4 separate regions of the Homo sapiens genome follow, and regions 2, 3 and 4 are each linked to region 1. The links are contacts of gene promoters, found by promoter capture Hi-C in blood cells and fetal thymus (Javierre and others, 2016). All regions are on one chromosome and are shown on one strand. The core of a region is centred on a gene start or on the middle of the fragment in contact, and the rest is flanking DNA. Distances in the headings are between cores, read along the strand shown. Region 1 holds the start of LAMC1 (laminin subunit gamma 1). Region 2 overlaps SMG7-AS1 (SMG7 antisense RNA 1). Region 3 overlaps NMNAT2 (nicotinamide nucleotide adenylyltransferase 2). Region 4 overlaps NMNAT2 (nicotinamide nucleotide adenylyltransferase 2).

The links. Contacts are between HindIII fragments. The CHiCAGO score rates a contact against its expected background, and 5 or more counts as called.
Region 2: a fragment that was not itself captured here is called in contact with the fragment with the promoter of LAMC1 in region 1 in 3 of 17 cell types (total B cells, endothelial precursors and naive B cells); the score reaches 7.4 in total B cells.
Region 3: a fragment that was not itself captured here is called in contact with the fragment with the promoter of LAMC1 in region 1 in 1 of 17 cell types (endothelial precursors); the score reaches 6.2 in endothelial precursors.
Region 4: a contact is called between a fragment that was not itself captured here and the fragment with the promoter of LAMC1 in region 1, in 1 of 17 cell types (endothelial precursors). The highest score is 6.8, in endothelial precursors.

What each region holds. Positions count from the first base shown.
Region 1 is chr1:183,021,689-183,025,056 of GRCh38, reverse strand. It overlaps LAMC1 (laminin subunit gamma 1), which reads right to left and starts at 1,637. Exons shown (of 28, transcript NM_002293.4): 1 at 923-1,637. The coding sequence starts at 1,340. RefSeq lists enhancers at 721-1,274, 1,830-2,384, 2,385-2,940 and silencers at 1,229-1,368, 1,389-1,458, 1,509-1,898, 1,929-2,318. The HindIII fragment of the contact is 7,676 bases long and covers 1-3,368 here.
Region 2 is chr1:183,465,881-183,469,248 of GRCh38, reverse strand. All of the region lies in intron 3 of SMG7-AS1 (SMG7 antisense RNA 1), which reads left to right. Among named protein-coding and RNA genes, the nearest start is that of SMG7-AS1, 4.4 kb to the left of the region's middle. The HindIII fragment of the contact is 3,386 bases long and covers 1-3,343 here.
Region 3 is chr1:183,326,315-183,329,682 of GRCh38, reverse strand. The region is part of intron 1 of NMNAT2 (nicotinamide nucleotide adenylyltransferase 2); the gene reads left to right. Among named protein-coding and RNA genes, the nearest start is that of NMNAT2, 90 kb to the left of the region's middle. The HindIII fragment of the contact is 3,248 bases long and covers 1-3,169 here.
Region 4 is chr1:183,295,563-183,298,930 of GRCh38, reverse strand. All of the region lies in intron 1 of NMNAT2 (nicotinamide nucleotide adenylyltransferase 2), which reads left to right. Among named protein-coding and RNA genes, the nearest start is that of LAMC2, 110 kb to the right of the region's middle. The HindIII fragment of the contact is 9,865 bases long and covers 1-3,368 here.

The sequences.
Region 1 (3,368 bases), core at 388-2,887:
GATTCCTCTGTTAAACACAATAATGAAACTTTCTGCCTATTTACGTATCTCAATGATGAAGAAAACCTTAGCTAGACCGAACATTATTTTTGGTGCTTCCAGATACATATGTCCATCCTCAATCCACTGCCCTGCCATGAAGTTTTCTACACATCCCTTTCCTGATTTCTGAAACATCACTTACACGTGTTTCTACAGTTGCTTTGAATGAAAGCAAAAGGGAAGACAGTAAAGGAGAGCCTTTTTACCCAGGGACAAGGCTATGCCCAGCAATTACAGTGAGTGCACTTCCTTTTGTTCATTCTGCACCAGGATTAGCAGTCAAATCGCTTTGTGGTTCTTAATTAAGGCTGAGCAGCTATAAAGAACAATAACTTCAAAAGTGAATTTATGTTTTAATTACACATAGGCAATATAGGCAGCGAAGGCATTTGCTCCCCTCAAATTCCCCCTTAACTCAACAGAGCAATCACCCTCAGCCCTGGAAGGACATCTAAACATTTTAAAGGCGAAAGTGTTTAAGGCGGACCTTCTTGTTTCCGATCCAAGAATGCGCTGTGATGACCTTGCTAGCAAAGAGAAAAGTGGGGATGGGAGTTTCTGATTAACGCTTCAGAAAAAAAAGGGGGAAATCACAATCCTAACAGCCGAAATGCAGAATAATCAGAGAGCCAGAATCCCGTTAAGTCAGAAAGAACAGGAAAGCAGAGAGACTCGTGCGGAACATCCTGGCCCTCACGGGATGTTAAAAGCAGTATCTATTTAAGAAGTTGGAGAAAGGAGTTTCTGTGTGGCCCATGCCGGGGAACAGAGAGCAAACACGCGGCCGTCTGCGCCCGTGAGGCCGGCCACTGGGACGGAGCCGGTCCGGGAGCTGGGCTGCTGGCGAGCAGTAGCAGGGGACGGGGCTGTCACCGCTTACCCAGGTGCAGCGTGAGGTTGATGGAGCTGGGGTACTGCACCCCGGCCAGCATGGTCTGGCTTTGCCACCAGGTGGTGTCGGCCTGGTTGTTGTAGTCGGTCAGGAAGGCTGCCCCGTGCTGCAGGTGGGGCTGCCCGGCGTCGCACAGGTGACAGGACTTGGTGACCCCGGTCACCCCGGTCTGCACACAGTATTCCTCGGGCGGAGTCCCACACGTGTTGGTGGCCACCACAGTCACGTTGAAGGCGGCGTTGACGAACTCGGGCATGCAGCGCTGCGGCCGCCCGCCCTCGTCCGTGCACTCGTCCATGGCTGCCTGGGCACAGCCCGCCGCGGCGGCCGCCGCCAGCACGGCCAGCACGGGCCAGAGCCGCCCCCGGGGCCGCAGGGCCGGCGCGGCCCGATGGCTCCCTCTCATCCCGCCGCCCGCACGCTGGGTCACGGCGAAGGCAAGGGCACCGGCGCGTTCCTCTCGCCTAGCGGCGTCCCCCGGAGGCCGCTTCGCTGCTTGAGCCTGGGGGCCCAGGGGCCTGACTCCGGCGCGGGCGGTGGCGGCGGCTCGCGCCGGAGAGACTGACGGGTGGGCGCCCCTAGCGAGGACCGCGCTGCTCGCCGACCACTGCCCCCGCGCGCCGCCTCCGCGCTTCCCTCACCTACCCCGGGAGCAGCCTGCACTCCGCGCCGACCCCCGACTTCCGAGCGCGTGCCCGAGTGCGCGCCCCCGGGGAGGAAGGAGCAGGGGGTGGGGTCGGCAGGGTGGGGTGGGGTCTGGGCGAGGAGAAAGCCCAACCCTGTCTCCTCTCAGCAACTCCCGCGGCCCCTGGGGCAACTCCCCGGCCCACCGCGCCCCATGGACTGCGCGTCCGCCCCGGCGACTCCAGGAGGCGGCGGGGGCGGGAGCAGCGGCGTCTCGCGCTCGGGCCCGCGGCGCGCGACCCGGGGGGAGGGGCGCGCGAGGTGGGCGGGGAGCCGGGGGAGGGGGTTGGGGGAGGGGAGGGGAGAGGAGGGGAGAGGAGGGGAGGGGAGAGGAGAGGAGGGGAGGGGAGGGCGGCTGGGTGGTGCATGCCGGGAGGGAAGGGCGGCCTCGCAGACCCGCTCCCCGCGCGGGAGTCGCTGGGGTCCTTGGGCTCCGCGGCCTGGGAGACTCCGGATTGCGGGAGGAGTCGGGGGAGGGCGCCTTAGAGGGGCGATGCCGGGTCAGGAGGTCGCTCGGGGTCGTCCCTGGGGCCTCGCGCCAATTTGGGCTGCGGCAAGAGGGTCCCCGCCCGGCCAGGTGTGGGTCCGAACCGGGAGCGCCCGCTGCTGCCCGGGGCCCCGCTCCAGCCCCTCCCGAACAGAGGTCCCGGGGCGTTCATGGGGCCGACACGGTCCCTGGAGAATCAGAAGGGCCTGGTCGCAGCAGCCAGATGAGTTTCGTGAAGCGATTTCCTGCCGCTGATTTAAAGTGTAACCAGTCGTTTTACCGGGGCAAGGAAGGAAGTGAAAAGGCTGGGAATGGAATGAATTTTTCCCTTGGGTACGCACGACCCACTGCGAAATTCTTCCACTGTGTTGTTTGTGTTCCTCGGCTTGCCTTTAAAAGACTCGAAATTATGTGGATTCTGACATCCTCCTTTTCGGGCCTGCTGAGTCACGGAATATTCTCAGTGCCAGAATGACTCAGTTCACAGAACCTGAGCCAGAAGATCATGAGTTTTAGTCCCGGAGCAGAACCTGGGCGCTTACCCAGTGCTGGATACGGCAAGCAGAGACCAGGGCAGGGAGGCAGCAGCTTGAAACCCTTGGCGTCCCCAAGCAGAGAGGATGCACATAGTGAATGACACGGATTTGTTTTGTTCTAGCTTTTCAGGAATTTAATGATAAAGTGCGGATAATAAGTACACCGCAAAAACAAAACAAAAAAACACATGCATAATTTCGGACCCAGTTGTCCCATTAAGATAGGCGTAATGGGAATCTGAAACAAGGAAATAAGTATATGTTAGGTGACTCTGGATAGTTAGGGTTAGTTAGACGCAGACTGCTGATTAGGAAAACCTTAAGGATAATGTTCTGGTAGGATGAAGAAGGGAGGGGAATCTAGGGTCTTGTTACACGGCTGAGCTTACTTAGCAAGTTATGTTCATCACTGTTCCGTTTATTTGATGAGATGGGTGGAGATTATGCATGGCTAAAGGTGCCTCATTCTTGGCACCTTCTCTTTGGGAGAATTAAGTTGTGGGGACTAATAATTTTTTAATCCTTTCATACATGAGTTGAAGCGAAATAAATACGTTCATTTACACCTAGAGGGGATTATATGCTCTCTCAGTCCTTCGTTGTACTTGAGGACAAACGTGGGCATATAGGACAAAAATAAGGATGTTAGTTGTGAATAAAGCTACAGATTTGTAATAAACTTGTTTATATTTTAATAAACATATTAGTGAATTTGCATTATTATACA
Region 2 (3,368 bases), core at 401-2,900, 440 kb before region 1:
TCTTTTTGGCTAAGTGATTTCATGGAAAGATCACAAGCTAACGGACCTGAGTATGCATTCTAACTCTGCCATCTTGGTGTCTGAACTTCAGTTTGCTCCTTGACCAAAATGGAAGCATTACCTGTTATAGGCTTCCTGTGACCTTTAATGATGACATACATGATTGAGTGCCCATTATACAACACTGAACTTGATAAACATTAAATTTTTTTCTGCCTTTTTGCTTTTTTTTTTTTTTTTTTTGAGACAGAGACTTACTCTGTCACCCAGGCTGGAGTGCAGTGGCACAATTTCAGCTCACTGCAACCTCTGCCTCCTGGGTTCAGGCAATTCTTGTGCTTCAGCCTCCCAAGTAGCTGGGACTACAGGTGTGTGCCACCACGCCCAGCTAATTTTTGTATTTTCAGTAGAGACAAGGTTCACCATGTTGGCCAGGCTGGTCTCAAACTCCTGACCTCAAGTGATCCACCTGCCTTGGCATCTCAAAGTTCTGGGATTACAGGTGTGAGCCACCTTGCCCAGTCCCTTTTGCTCTTTTATATCAAGCTAAAAAGAGTAAAATAGAACTACTACAGCATAACATTATTTTTTAAAATAATACTCTATCTAGTCTTTTTTTTTTTTAAATAGAGATGCAGCCTAACTGTATTGCCCAGGCTATCTATCTCTAACTCCTAGCCACAAGCAGTCCTCCCGCCTCAGCCTCACAAGTAGCTGGGATTTTAGGTGTGAATCACTGTACCCAGCTCTCAATCTAGTCTTTGTCTATAATACTCATAGGTCTGAACTCACATTCAAATCTATTGGCATCCAGTGCTAGAAGATAGATTTCTTTATTCATGACTGATTACAGAAAAGAACACAATATTAGGACATTGTGAGTCCAATGCTAGAGATTTAAAACTTTTCAAAAACCTTTTATCACATAAAACAGGCTAATATAACCACATTTCTGTCCAAGTAGATGGAATGGCCTCTTTTCAATCAAACACAGTACTTGCTGAGAAGCTACTCTTAACATTCTTACCAAATTTACCCAGAGCTTTGGTAACCTGACGATTAATACATAGCAGGCCTCCTCCCTTTTTATAATAATAGACAGCCTGTGCCATGACATCGTAACAAGCCCTAATTTATTTTAATATTTATCCTATATATTCTGAATGTTTATAAATCCTGTGCACAATTAGGAACTTGGTAAATCATTCTCATCAAAGCAGAAACACATTTATTATCAGTTGCATACTCAGTACACAATATGTGTGAAGCTAGCCATTCATTCCTCTTCAGTACCACACCTCAGACCATAGAGTTAAGTGATTCAATCAAATGAGTAATTCATTCTCTTCAAATAGTGAGTCAGATACAAATTGACATTTAAATTCAGGTCTCCTGTTGCTCAAGATTTCTTAGATCAAGGGTCAGTAGCCTTTTTCAAACAGTTTGCCAAGTGTATATTTATTCATTCACTCCAAAGAGGGAGTCTTTTAGCCTGAAGAATAGTCGGGAATCATTGCAGTCCAAGATTGAAGAAAAGAAACTTCTGATTTGGGAGGCACTGAGGTGACAGTTGGGGAATAATATTCAGAGCTTTCTCTCCCCCTTCACTTCTCCATTCTCCTAATATTTACTAAGGGAAATCTTACTATCTTCAAGGTTTCCCCCAACTCCCAATAAGCAAATACCTCTGAGAAATTACCACACCTAAAATTCTTATCTGCTGATTTAATGGACACAATCTGGAGAAGACAAGAAGAGATGCTCATAGGAAAGATTGAAAAGTATTGAAAAACAAAAACAAAAACCGTAGCCTCTCTTATTTTATTGGCAGAAGGCCTTAGTGTTCATGCATCTCTTTACTACCCGAAGCACAGTACTTACTGAAATCATCTTGTGGGTCCCTAATCTAACAGCAACATATTTCATGTCAAAGTCTGTTCAGTTACCTAGAAGTTGCCATATTTTTCTTAAAACACCCAACTAAAATAACATAATCTTTTAATATTTTCTAGTTTCTACTTTCCTAACTTTTATCAGGTAGATAGTAATTTGGAGCACTAAGAATGTGATACTGATATTCATTGTCATAAATCTGTTCTTCAAAACCATGGGAAACATGTACATGCATGTACACATGCACACACTGATATGGTTTGGCCCTATGTCCCTGCCCAAATCTGATCTCTATTTATAATCCCCACATGTTGACGGAGGGACCTGTAATCCCCACGTGTCCAGGGAGGGAGGTGATTGGATCATGGGGGTGGTTTCCCCCATGCTGTTCTCATGAGTGAGTGAGTTCTCACAAGATCTTATGTTTTTGTAAGTGTTTGGAACTTCCTCCTTTGTTTGTCTCTCCCTGCTGCCTTGTAAAGAAGGTCCATTTTTCCCCTTCCACCATGATTGTAAGTTTCCTGAGGCCTCCCCAACTATATGGAACTGTGAGTCAATTAAACCCCCTTTGCTTATAAATTACCCAGTCTCGGGTAGTATCTTTATAGCAGTGTGAAAACGAAATAACACACACCTTCCTCTTTTCCCTGACATTATTATTGTACCAATTCAATTGGCAATTCAAGTTAAAATGTGATAAAGATGAAAAGCAAAGAAACTTAGGACTTAGGTCCATCACTTCAAGGCATACTAAGAATATGCATCCAAGCACTTTTTTGCTTTGCTTAACAATCCCAGGGTCTTTTCTATTCTCAGAAAACTTTTACATATCAAAAACCTGGATAGTTTGTTCCATATATGTAAAAGTTCTTTCTTTTCTTTTTCTTTTTCTTTCTTTCTTTCTTTTTTTTTTTTTTTTTTTTTGAGACAGGGTCTTGCTCTGTTGCCCAGGCTGGAGTATAGTGGCATGATCACAGCTCACTGCAGCCTCAACCCCCGGGCTCAAGTAATTCCCCTGCCTCAGCCTCTCGAGTAGCTAGGACTACAGGCTTCCCTCACGATGCCCAGCTAATTTTTTTATTTTTTGTAGAAACAGCAGTCTCCCTATGTTGCCCAGGCTGGTCTCAAACTCCTGGGCTCAAGAACCTCCAGCCTTGGCTTCCCAAAGTAATGGGATTACAGGTGAGCCACCTCACCTGGTCATATTTGTTAAAATTCTTAATATTAGCCTGGCACAGTGGCAGGTGCCTATAATCTCAGCTACTCAGGAGGCTGAGCCAGGTGGATCACTTGAGCCAAGGAGTTTGGGGCCAGCCTGGGCAACATAGCAAGGCTCCATCTTAAAAACAATTCTTAATATTGTTGGGTTAAGATGTAAGAACACATTCTGGAACAAATTAAATAGTAAATTAATGTGTACGTATATTCCACATTTTAGCTATGTTAAGCTTTTTAAAAAGTTTTTTCCCCTGGCT
Region 3 (3,368 bases), core at 296-2,795, 300 kb before region 1:
ATATGTTCAGCAAAAAGGTGATGGGTGGGCAGTATCTGTTGGGAAGGAGGACAGCTCAGTGTGGCTCTGGCTGCAGCCCTCCATGAGGGGAACAGTGAGGGCTTGAATAATGATCTTAGCAGGGTCATCCCCATGGCAGGCTCAGTAAGAAATTGCTAAAAGCTATTCTTATCCAGCCGAAGATTATCCAAGTAGGTCTCCTCCCACACAGGTTTTAACAGATAGTTTCCAACCTCTCCTGAATGACTTGGAGGAATGTACACTTTAATGGGTTAAAATGGACCATTTTACCTAATTAAGAGTCCAGATCAGGGAATTTAAAATATCCTATTTCCTCAATGCTAAGATATATGACTTTCATGCTGAGCATTTCTGAAACTGCAATAAATTTTATAATATTTATCTTCAATTTAGTGTTTCTTCACACACACATACACACACACACAATTAAAATGGATATTTGTTTGAATTAAAGGAATACAACAACATGATTGTTACTCTAGTTTATGCTGGTAGGGGGATAGAAATCATGAACCCCCATAGGCAGAAATGGGCTTCAGGGAGGCTAGGAACCCTGATTTGGAAAGCTGTAGGGAACCCTTGCAGTATGTCTGTCTCTCATCTTTGCCTCTTTCTCTGTAGCTGATACATTGTTTGCTATTTCTACCGACTTGCTACCTCTGCTCCTCTACCTCTGCTACCTCTGCTACCTCTGCACAGCACAAAAACAGACAACCACAGCCCCACAGAAGGACCAAATCTCTCTGTCTCCATGTTTCTCTGTCTCTCTCTCCTGCAATCCAAATACCGGGGGAAGGATTTCTATTGGCTTTTATAGTCCAATCAACTGATGTTGGAATGGGAAGTAGGGTCACATTTTACAAGGTGGCTACCAACTATTACTGTGAGTCCACAGGTCAGGCTAGGAGACTCTGTAGATTGCGGCAGACATTCCACAAGATCTTCCTCACAGGAGGCAAAGGTTTGTTGGTGCAGAACATCATTCCCATGGCACTAGGTGTTGAGGTTGGGAGGACAGTAGGCAGGGCTCCTAGAGACAAGTCACCTAACTAGAGCCAGGAGGATTGCTAGCTCCTGACACCAAGCCTGATGGTCAGATCAGCAGTGACCATGCTGACTCATGGGGCTGGCTAGGGCTTTGTCCTGATCACCATCTCCCTCAGAAAGGACTAGAGAGCAGAGGTTTCATTGCCCAAGGGCATTGCCCAAGGAGGAATGGTAGGGAGGCAGAAATGGCAAATTCTAGAAGAGCATTCTCCTAGAAGGGCTTATTAACATGTAGCACCAGAGAGGCTCTTTTCAAAATGCTCTCTGAGGGTCCGTATTTTGCTGATCTCAGCTTCAGACTGTCCAAAACAATCATAGCCCCTCCAAGGCTTCTGGAGGTGAGAGGGGGTAGAGCAGATGGGTGGGGAGGAAGCCAGGGAGCCAGGAAGCCAGGGTCCTGGCCTGCGGCATCTGATCCCTCTCCCTTTTCAGTTTTCAGGGACCTGCCAACTCAGTGTGTTTGAGTGGCTGGAGTCCAGCTGCAATACTGTGTGGTCCGAGACCAGGTGATGGTTCCCTCCCATGACCCCTATTCTCCCCTCTCTGGCCCAAGTCCTGGAGGGAACAACCTCTCCGCCTGCCCTAGAAGCTGTGGGGGCAGCTGACGTTGATGAGCCACCGACCTGGAGATTTGGCAGAAGACCTGCTTGCTAAGTTGGAGAGAGGATGTCAAGTGAGAAAGAGCAGTGTTCAGTGCCAGCTCCTCTGAAACCCAGGGGAGCCAGGGAGTAGACAGGGCCAGCGAGGACAGGGAGGGAAAGCAGTAGCTTCCCAGGGCAAAAGGGGAAAAACACACATACACACACAAAAAACAGCAGCTAAGAAGACTATTTTTATTTCTAATTCTCCAGGCATCACTCCCAAGAGATCTGTCCAAGTGACTCAGAAATGTCCTTGTGGCACTGAGAAATTGCCTAGTTTGTGAGTACAGAGAACTCAGTGCTGGCGAATAAACATCCCTGCTCTTCTTCAACCACTCACCCCTACCCACCACTCCGTTGGAAACGATTCTGGGACATACTGATGTCTGTGCAGTGTACAGATGTCTGAATTTGAGAAGAGTTGCTGGCAAACAGTAAGAAGCACTGGTATACATGAGCTGTCGAGGTAGCAAGAAGGAATGCCTGCAAATATGGCCCTTTTGGCGTACTGGATTGGTGATGCTTGAGCCAACACATCTTCATAATTCGCTGTGTGAACTGAGAGAAGTTATCTTAAATGTCTGTCTCCACTTTGTTATTTAAAAAATGTATAATTAGGGCCAGGCACAGTGGCTCATGCCTGTAATCCCAGCACTTTGGAAGGCCGAGGCAGGCGGATCACTTGAGGTCAGGAGTTCGAGACCAGCCTGGCCAACATTTAGTAGAGACCAGCTGTCTCTACTAAAAATACAAAAATTAGCCAAGTATGGTGGCACATGCCTGTAATCCCAGTTACTTGGGAGGCTGAGGCAGGAGAATTGCTTGAGCCTGGGAGGCGGAGGTTGCAGTGAGCCGAGATTGCACCACCTCACTCCAGCCTGGGTGACAGAGTGAGCTCTGTCTCAAAAATAAATACATACATACATACATACATACATACATACATAAAATATAATTATGAATACTGCTGAGAAAGGGTAATGGGGATAGCTATGTCCACTCTTTCCCTCTCTGTTGTGTGACTGGAGATTAATCCTATTCATTAATTTTTCTTGGTCCTCTCCCAGTCCTCTTCCATCCACCTGGTTATCTAGTCCCTTCTTTAACCCTCAGAGTCAAAGTTTCAGCCCACCTGGTGATTCTTCCTCCAATGTATATTTTAAATCCATCCTCTTCTTTCCATCTTTCTAATGGAGTCTCACCTTGTCCATTGCAATCTTGTTCTGCGAGCTTCTCAATCCATTCTCCTCACAGCCCAGGGTGCTTTTCATGAGTAAGATCATGTCACTCTCTTTCTTAAATCCCCCAATGACTTCTTTTTCCCTTAGAGCACACCCAACATGATATGGTGCCTATTGACCACTCTAGTGATATAGATTCTTCAAGTTCTAGAACACATCAAATTTTCCCTGTCCTGGAGCCTTTGCACATGCTGCTGTCTCCATATGGAAAGCTAAGCTTCTAAGTCTGCCCCTGGATCCTCCTCTTCATTCATGCCTCAAAATGAAATTATTTCTTCCTCACAACATATTTTCCCTTGCAACCATATCTAAATAGTTCTCTTCCCCTGTCTTTTTTTTTTTTTTTTTTTTTTTTTTGAGATGGAGTCTCACTCTGTTGCCCAGGCTGGAGTGCAGTGGTGTGATCTCAGCCCACTAC
Region 4 (3,368 bases), core at 555-3,054, 270 kb before region 1:
ACATTTTAGAATTCTGTTGATATTAACACTTTAACAAATCTTGTTGTGATTTTGACAAGAAATACATTAAATTTCATATCATTTTGGGGAGAATTAGCATCTTGACTGTGTTGCATCTTCCAATCCATAACATAGTATGTCTCTTGTTGTTGTTGTTGTTGTTCCTAACCACTAGACTATGCCATCCAACTCAATAGAAGCATGATCACCCAAATAAATTCAGGATTGTCAGCATCTTCTGCTACTTGTTGTGGCGCTGAATTCAAATATATGTTCCTGTGTTCACAGAGGCAACATAGATACAGTGCATATGGGAATAAAGGGTTGAAGGCATCCTTGAAAAGGACTCTCAGTTAAGATTTAAAATGCATAGGTCTCTACATTTATTTAGATCTTCTTTGATTTCTTTCATCAGCATCTTGTAGTTTTTAACATACAAGCCCTGTATATGTTTTATTATATTTATACCTAAGTATTTCATTGAATTGATTAACATTTGCTTTGTATTTTTATTTTGATTTTGTTTGTTGCTAGCATATGGAAATACAATTAATTTTCTTATGTTGATCTTGTAACTTATGACCTTGTTGAGCTCACTTATTAGTTGCTGGAGTTTCCTTGTAAATTTATTGGGATTTCTAGGTAGATCATCAAGTCATCTACAAATAGAGACAGGTTTTTTTATTTTCCTTTTTTTATCTGTATGCCTTTTATTTCCTTTTCTTGCCTTATGGTGTGCACTAGAACTTCTGGTTGAATAACAGCAATGAGAGCACACTTCCTTCCTTGTTCTTCATTTTAGGGAGAAAGCATTCAATCTTTCACCACTAAGTATGATGTTAGTTGCAGGTTTTTGCAGATGCTCTTTGTCAAGTCGAGGACGTTTCTTTCTATTCCTATTATACTGAGAGTTTTTGTCATGAATGAATGTTGAATTTTGTCAAACGCTTTTTCTGCATCAATTGATAGGATCATGAGATTTTTCTTTAGCTTGCTGGTGGATTACATTGAATGATTTTTCAAATACTGAAAAAACAGCCTTGTATCCCTGGAATATACACCACTTAGTCACAGTGTATAATTCTTTCTATATATAGCTGGATTCTATTTGCTAACATTTGTTAAGGATTTTTGAGTATTCAATCATAAAGGATATTGGCCTGTAGTTTCTTCTTTGTACTGTCTTTGCCTGGTTTTGATATCAGGGTAATACTGGCTTTATAAAATAAATTGAAAAGTGTTCTTTCCTAGGCCGGGCATGGTGGCTCACGCCTGTAATCCCAGCATTTTAGGAGGCCGAGGTGGGCAGATCACCTGAGGTCGGGAGTTCAAGATCAGCCTGACCACATGGAGAAACCTCGTCTCTACTAAAAATACAAAATTAGCCGGGGATGGTGGCACATCCCTGTAATTCCAGCTACTCGGGAGGCGGAGGCAGGAGAATCGCTTGAACCCGGGAGGCAGAGGTTGCGCTGAGCCGAGATCACGCCGTTGCACTCCAGCCTGGGCAACAAGAGCGAAACTCCGTCTCAAAAAAAAAAAAAAAAGGGTTCCTTCCTTTTCTACTTTCTAGAAGAGTTTATGTAGACTTGGTTTTAGTTCTTTATGTGGAATTCTCCAGTAAAACCACTTAGCGCTATGCACTTTTACTTTCGTAATTTGATTTGATCCTCACAACAACTTTGCAAAGAAGGCATTTTACAGAAACAGTTTCCAGGTCCCTTGGACTGCACTGGATACACAGTGAGATTAGTGAGGTGGCCGGGAAATAAGTCCAGAGCAGGAGGCTGTTGGGCAGGGAAGGCATGCTAGATGTGGGGTAGGGTAGAGCTGGGTTTGAATGAAGTGCTTGGGAAGTGAAGAGTTAGAAGGCACTATTTGGAGGACAGGGAGAGTAAAGAAGTTCTGGCTTATTGCAGCAGAGGGTCTGTGACTGCCAAGGGCCAGATAGAAATGACCCCGAAGAGGAGCGGAGTGTGAAGGTCCAAGAGAAACAGGGAGAGGCTGTGCAATTTCTTCAAATATCAGAATAGATTGTTGCAAGGCCTTTAATTTGGCCTCAGAATAAGATCTGAAAACAAGTGAAGTACTACAACTCTTTTAAAAAGCAAATATGGGGCTGGGTGCGGTGGCTCATGCCTGTAATCCCAGCACTTTGGGAGGCTGAGGTGGTCAGATCACCTGAGGTCAGGAGTTCAAGACCAGCCTGGCTAACATGGTGAAACCCCATCTCTACTAAAAAATAAAAAAATTAGCTGGGTATGGTGGTGCACGTCTGTAATCCCAGCTACCTATGAGGCTGAGGCACAAGAATCACTTGAACCCAGGAGGCGGAGGTTGCAGTGAGCCAAGATGATGCCACTGTACTCCAGCCTGGGCAACAGAGCTAGACTCCATCAAAAAAAAAAGCAAATGTGACACACTTATCAGAGTGACACACTTATTAAAATCCAAATAATGCCAAATGCTGGTAAGAATTTGGAGCAACAGAAAGTCTCATTCATTCCTGGTAGGAATATAAAATGGCACAACCACTTTGGAAGACAATTTGACAGCCTCTTAAAAAGCTAAACATAATCTTACCATATGATTCATATGGCTCCTTGTGTAGATTCCCTAATTTACGTCTTCACAAAAACCTGCACATGAATGTCATATCAGCTTTATTTATAATCACTAAAAACTGGAAGCAGCAAAGATGTTCTTTGGTAGATGAATGGATAAACTGAAGTACTTCCAGACAATAGACTATCATTTAGTGATTAAAAGAAATGAGCTGCCGGCCGGGCGCGGTGGCTCACGCCTGTAATCCCAGCACTTTGGGAGGCCGTGGCAGGCGGATCTCCTGAGGTCAGGAGTTTGAGACCAGTTTGGCTAACATAGTGAAACCCCATCTCTACTAAAAATACAAAAAATTAGCTGGGCATGGTGGTAGGCGCCTGTAATCCCAACTACTTGGGAGGCTGAGGCAGGAGAATCGCTTAAGCCCGGGAGGCGGAGGTTGCAGTGAGCTGAGATGGCGCCACTGCACTCCAGCTTAGGGGACAAGAGCGAGACTTCCTCTCAAAGAAAAAGAAAGAAATGAGCTATCGAGCCATGAAAAGACATGGAGGAACTTTAAATGCATACTGCTTAGTGAAAACAGCAAGTCCAAAGAGGGTACATACTGTATGATTCCAACCATATGGCATTTTGGAAACGTCAAATCTATAGAAAAAGTAAACAGAACCGTGGTTGCCAGGGGTTTGGGAAAAGAGGAGGCATGAATGGGTGGAACACTGAATTTTTAGGGGATGAAAATACTGGGTATGATACTATAATGAAGGATACAATTGTCAAAACCCACAGAACTCTACAACACAGAGTAA